2 separate regions of the Homo sapiens genome follow, and region 1 is linked to region 2. The links are contacts of gene promoters, found by promoter capture Hi-C in blood cells and fetal thymus (Javierre and others, 2016). All regions are on one chromosome and are shown on one strand. The core of a region is centred on a gene start or on the middle of the fragment in contact, and the rest is flanking DNA. Distances in the headings are between cores, read along the strand shown. Region 1 overlaps IKBKB (inhibitor of nuclear factor kappa B kinase subunit beta). Region 2 holds the start of VDAC3 (voltage dependent anion channel 3).

The links. Contacts are between HindIII fragments. The CHiCAGO score rates a contact against its expected background, and 5 or more counts as called.
Region 1: a fragment that was not itself captured here is called in contact with the fragment with the promoter of VDAC3 in region 2 in 1 of 17 cell types (megakaryocytes); the score reaches 5.3 in megakaryocytes.

Annotation. Positions count from the first base shown.
Region 1 is chr8:42,300,712-42,304,003 of GRCh38, reverse strand. The region is part of intron 5 of IKBKB (inhibitor of nuclear factor kappa B kinase subunit beta); the gene reads right to left. LOC105379395 (a long non-coding RNA gene) reads right to left here. Exons shown (of 2, transcript XR_949714.3): 2 at 2,657-3,292. Among named protein-coding and RNA genes, the nearest start is that of IKBKB, 31 kb to the right of the region's middle. The HindIII fragment of the contact is 1,230 bases long and covers 1,279-2,508 here.
Region 2 is chr8:42,390,587-42,393,631 of GRCh38, reverse strand. VDAC3 (voltage dependent anion channel 3) reads right to left here and starts at 1,752. Exons shown (of 10, transcript NM_005662.7): 1 at 1,704-1,752. It also overlaps a transcript of DKK4 not described here. RefSeq lists enhancers at 1,247-1,747, 1,748-2,248 and a silencer at 1,476-2,005. The HindIII fragment of the contact is 9,991 bases long and covers 851-3,045 here.

The DNA.
Region 1 (3,292 bases), core at 644-3,143, 90 kb after region 2:
GTCACATGGTATAAATAGAACAGTGCAAATAACATTAAAAGGTTTTCAAAGTTTATGGCAAAAGATACTATAAACAAAGCCAAAAGATAAGAGAGGTGGGGAAACAATATCTACAACACATACACCAAAGAGTAAAGATACCTAATAGATAAAAAGCTCTTATAAATCAATAAGAAAGCAATGCAGAAGAAAAATGGGGCTGGGCGCGGTGGCTCACGCCTGTAATCCCAACACTTTGGGAGGCCAACGTGGGCGAATCACCTGAGGTCAGGAGTTCAAGACCAGCTTGGCCAACATGGTGAGACCCTGTATCTACTAAAAATACAAAAAAATTAGCTGGGTGTGGTGGCATGCCCCTGTAATCCCAGCTACTCGGGAGGCTGAGGCAGGAGAATTGCTTGAACCCAGGAGGCAGAGGTTGCAGTGAGCCGAGATCATGGCCACTGCACTCCAACCTGGGTGACAGAGTAAGACTCTACCTAAAAAAAAAAAGAAAAAGAAAAAGAAAAATGGGCAAAGAATGTCAAGTGGTGAGAAAGCACAGAAGAAGAGATACAAATGGTATCACTTCACTGGTAGCCCAAGGATACTTACTGCATATCTTGAATGAAATAATTAGAAACAGACAGTCATTAGGAAATGTTAGAACAAATTATGGTAGTGCCACATTAGAACAGGCAACTCTTGGGTCTATATTTTCTGACTCAGAGGGATAGTTAATGGTATGACCTGTTTCTTGTTTAAAACTTAAAAAGTCAAAAGCAGTAACATTCAGAGGTTTAACAATGAACCCTCTGTATGCCGTCGCCGCCACCACCATTCTCATTCTCTCTGTTTCTCTCTCATTCTCTCTCTCATTCTCTCTCCTCTCTCTCTCTCTCTCATTCTCTCTCTCTCTCTCTCTCTCTCTCATTCTCTCTCTCTCTCTCTCTCTCTCTCTCTCCCTCTCGGCAAGCCGGGGAGGGGAAGACCCCTGAGGCCCAGGCAGCGATCCTATCTGCTGTCATGGGTACGGCCCTCTGTGCAGGGTAACGGAAAAGCCTTCCACAGAAACTGAGTAAGCAAACATTCTCTGCAAAGACTCTAAGCTGAACATTTGCTGAAAACATATTTAAGAGTCAAACTGAGAGCTGAACAACTGACTTCCACCTTATTAAAGGAGTTCCAGCTCAGAACATTAAGCTATACATGATGAGTATCTCTTATCCAAAATGCTTGGGATCAGTTTTTTTTTTTTTGGATTTTGGAATACTGGCATATTCCTAATGAACCCAAGCTTAAACACAAAATTCATTTGTTTCATATATACCTTATATGAAACAACTGAATTTTTATAAATGATTTTATAGTCTGATGGTAATTTTATACAATAGTCTTAATAATTTTGTGCATGGAACAATGTGTTAAGTACTTAAGTGTGGAATTTTCCACTTCTGGCATCATGTCAGTGTACAAAAACCTTCAGATTTTACAGCCCTTTAGATTTTGGACTTTGGGATTAGGGATGCTCTATCTGTGGTGCCAGATCTCTCCTTGCATCTGCTCTTTTAAGTCCAGCCTTCGACCATGTGGTTCCAACATATCATACTGTTCCTTACTTTTCATTTCCTTCCTAAGTGACAGAGTAGATCAGCTTAGGTCCAATTAATGTCCAGATGAGGTGAAAGACTCGCTGCTTTCCATGTGCCTAAAAAATTATATTTCATCTTGTTCTCAATTGTGTTAATGTTTCAAGACCAATGCTTCTCATCAGCACTTTTATTTTTGTTTTACTTTTATTAAAAATCAAAGCAAATGAAAAAGCATAATAAATTAAATGAAGTATAAAAAATAGCTGCACTAACACAGCCTTGCAGACAGGGATGGCACTGCTGTTGAATATGAACTACTGGCTGGCAGAGAGCAAGGCCATGCAATAACTCAAAGTGTCTGTTAACTGATAGGTTCACAAAAGACCTGTTTTGGTATATGACAGACTGCTGGAGAGTATCAGGATGTAATACATAAAAGTGTAGGTTAGTTTTTTCCAAAGCAGAATATATGGAAGTTGAGATACTGTAATTTGAGCAAGTACACATGCCCAGACTGAGACAAGGCCCCCAGAGCTGGAGGCTAACATCTCAGGGCAAAACCCAGGGCACAACCAGGTGAGATGTCCCCAGAACCCCCCAGTGAAGAGGAGGAGCATTCGGATTAGACCAAAGGCACCGCTCTCTACGCCACGTGGATTAGAGTTGTCACCAGATCTTCAGTGAGGAGGGACAAGAGGTTGGTAACTGAATACTCTGACTACTATTAATATCTGTCTATTTTTATGCTTAAACAACTGTACAAAACAAACTTTATTCCTCATTTCGGGGTGGTCATCTATTCTTCAATACCTCTGTCAACTTAATAAAGTCCAGATTTAAAGAATCCAACAGGTATTGTTACACATAGTTTCTGGGACTGAAATGTAAAAATTCTGATAGGCAAGTCCTCTTAAATGTACCCTGCAGAGAATAAGCTTTCAAAAAGCTTGGTTCAGTATCACTGTGCTACATTTTACAAAACAGTACTTCAGAGCTAAAGTGAAATGAATCAAAATTGTTTCAAGCCCAGAGAATCTAACTTTGTTTAAATTTGATGAAAAATGAGACATTGAGATGAAGAAAAATACTGTTGAATCTGGAAGTTTATTAAAAATCTAAATCCCTGGCAATAGCAGTAAGACATGTTTATAAAAATTAAAAGCCACACCACAAAGCATAAAACTGTACCAGGTAATTTTTCATGTTCCCATTACAGAGAAGAGCTGTGAGAAGCACCACATTGCAAACTATTAAGCTATTCACAACTACACAGTGAGGCCAGGCATGGTGGCTCACACCTGTAATCCCAGCACTTTCGGAGGCCGAGGGAGGAGGATCCCTTGAGGCCAAGAGTTTGAGACCAGCCTGGGCAATATAGCAAGACCCTGTCTCTACAAAAAAAAAAATTTTAATTAGCCAGGCATGGTGGCGCATGCCTTCATCCCAGCTACGTGGGAGACTGAGGTGAGAGGATCACTTGAGCCCAGGAATTCAAGGCTGCGGTGAAACATGATCGTGCCACTGCACTCTAGCCCGGACAACAGAGCAAGACCCTGCCTCTAGAAAAATGCAAAAACTAAAATAAACGACACAGTGCAGTGTATGCAGGAAAAACACAAAAACTAAGATAAATGACACAGTACATTTCCACAGAATGGGTCCACATGGCAGACTTGCCATAGGAAGATAACAGCCTCCTTCTCTCACCCTCCTCAGAAGCC
Region 2 (3,045 bases), core at 503-3,002:
CTGCAGCAACCTGCTTACCAAAAGTTAGTGTAAACTCTGAAGTTAAAGCCTTCAAAAACCTCAGGTGCCTTGATTTTTCATCTTGCCTACTAAAAATCTGCCCAGCTTTGCTACTGGTAATATGACCCTCATATCAAATTCTCAGAGCTATCAACACTGCTGATTATCTCATTCCTTTGCCCTCTTTGTATCATGGGAAATCTTTCTGCAGCAGGTTCTTCTGTATTCCTCTCGCAGACTCAAAAGCTATGTCTAACCAATTACAGAGCCACCTCTAGCAGTGCCATTAGCCCATATGTCAGAAAAATCCAGAGTACCAGCTAGCCCTTGCAATTGCTACGCCTGAATGATCTACACATTTAAGCTCATATTTATTTATATATAGCCCAGCTCTTAATCCAGACTTCTGCTAAGCTTCTGCCTACCCCATCATACCAAACATATACATATGATGCACTTAAATGGGAATGCATTTAAGTTTTGTTCCTTAACATAAACCTGTCAAATATGACAGACACTATGATATAAAGAGACTAGTATAAAAAACTAAAAAGAAAAAAAAATTAAAGAGGAAACGGTAGTATAAATGTACTGACTCATTCCATAGTAAAACTTTGCTCTAAGCTACCAGGTTTCATAATTCACTTACAGAACGATTATTTTACAATTCAATCCCTTGTACTAAAGTGATCAATTCTAGGCTTTTTATATTATCCCAATTGCAATTTGATATTACTCTTTATGATTACAACTGATGTTGATATTTGTTGAAATTTTGCCAGAAGTCTGTAATTTGGGAAGTAAGTATAGAAATGCAGGCAGTATATATTGAAATAGAAATGTTAAAGCTTTACAGTCTGGTTTTTCATACTGCCGAGAAAAGATACACTTAAATGTTTAGAAGCACTATATATACGTCTAGGGACTATTTACAATATTTCAGCATTTTGTTTTGTTATTTTTCAAAACCAGTACGAGATACTATGCAAAAGTCACGTAGCTGGTTTAGTATACTAACTGACCTCAATTCTGCCTAGTTCAAGCTGACTTTTTCAGGCCTATGACTCTGATGGGAAATGCACTGCTAGTATGATCAAGCAAAAATCGAGAACAACAGAAACTTCATGTTCCTCGAGAGTAAAGCTACAACCACACGTCTCCACCAGCTCTACAGAATGCACCTGCCCATAGATGTGCACACTGCACAGAGGCTGCAGGAGACGCAGACGGGGAAAGGCGTTAAGCCGGTTGCTACTGCTTTACAAAGCCACTAACTTGACAGCCAGTACAGAGCCCTTTTCGTTCCTCGCTTCTCCGTTTTGAATTGCACGCAGGGCACCCTCCCTCGGCCGTAAGGAGGGGGCAGGGGCGGGCGGGAGATGGGTGTGGGGTTCGAGGATCCAACTTCCCTAGAACCGATCTCCTTTCTAGCTGACCCCTGGGAGGAAAGTGCGGTCCACACGCCGGCGGGATAGGTCGCTGCCCGCGCCCGGAGGCCACTTGCCCCGCCGTGCTGCGGCTCCATCGCCTGAGGTGGCCCGGGCGGGTCCCGGCGGGAGCGAGCGGCCCCGGCCCCCCGCGCCCCGGTAGCCTGCTCCCTGCCCACAGAGCCTCCGTTAGGCCCGCCTCCCGCCTGGCGCTCTGCTCGGCCGCGGCCCACCGCTCTCCGGGACTGGAGCCCGCGCGGCCTCAGCTCTCCTCACCTCCACCCCGAGGGCCTGTCTCTGCTCCGCCAGGGCAACGCTGAAGGTCTTCAAACCAACGCCGTCCGCGCCTGCGCAGCCTCGCACCCCCAGCCGCGCCTGCGCGCCGCCCCTCCCCGAGAGCGCCTGTGCGCCGGCGTGTCGCGCCACGGTCGCGCGCTTCGGAGCAAGGCGCGGAGACGAACAGCCGGGCCAAGCCAGCACCACCAACTGTCCGGCTCCGCAGCGCGCGTGCGCAGGAGGGCTCGGTGTGGACAGTGAGGTTGACTGGGGGCCCAAGAGGCTGGGGACCGCACCTGTGCCCTTGAGGGGACTCATTCTCGCGAGAATGCGCGAGGTTGCTAGTTAACTGTTGCCATGGGTGCGGCCGCGAAAAGGCCGCAGGGTGCCGGACCCCAGGTTTGAGGCATGCCGCAGGCCGGAGTGTAGTGGCGCGATCTTGGCTCACTGGAGCCTCGACCTCCTGGGCTCAAGCCGTCCTCCTGCCTAAGCCTCCTGAGTAGGAGGGTCCACAGAAGCGCGCCACCACGCCCGGCTAATTTAATTTTTTTTTTTTTTTTTTTTTGGTAAAGACGGGAATCTCCCTATGTTTCCAGGCTGGTCTCGAACTCCACGGCATAAGTGATCCGCCCGCCTGCGCCTACCAGAGTGCTGGGATCACAGGCCTGAGCCCACGCCCAGCCTCTTATGGGAATTTCATTTCAGACTGACCAGACTTCAAGAGTGTCACTCTTAGGTCATCTCGTCTTAAGGATGAGAATACACAGGTCCCCAGGGAGTAAGTGATTGATTCAAGATCCCACAAGTAGTGAGAGATGATAATTCAAAGGGGCAGAGGATGTGGAGGAGAAAAAGCTCTTCTGTAGAGGAGAAGACCAACTAATAAAGGTAGAATAGATGACAGAAATAGAAAATCATCGTCTTGGAACCACCATGATAATAATTGATTCAGGCTGAAATGATCAGTGGACCGTTGAGGATGTTCATATGGTTTCAAAGTATCACCCCCATAGATTACTCACTAAAGAGAAAAGGGTACCTTCACATCAAAGAGACTGATCAAACGGGGGATGGTAGGGACTGACATATGCCCCTGGTGTGAGGCACAGAGAGGGACACAGAGATAATATTCTTGTAAAAGTGTGTAATTTGCCTCTCTTCAGGACGAAACAATCAGGCAAATCCAAACTGAGAGACCTGCAAGACAACTGCCCAGTCTTCAAAAATGTCAGTTTCATGAAAGATTAGGAAAAAGGCTAGTGAACTGCTCTAGGTTAAAGGAAGCAGCCTGTAATCCCAGCACTTTGGGAGGCAGAGGCGGGCGGATCATGAGGTCAGGAGA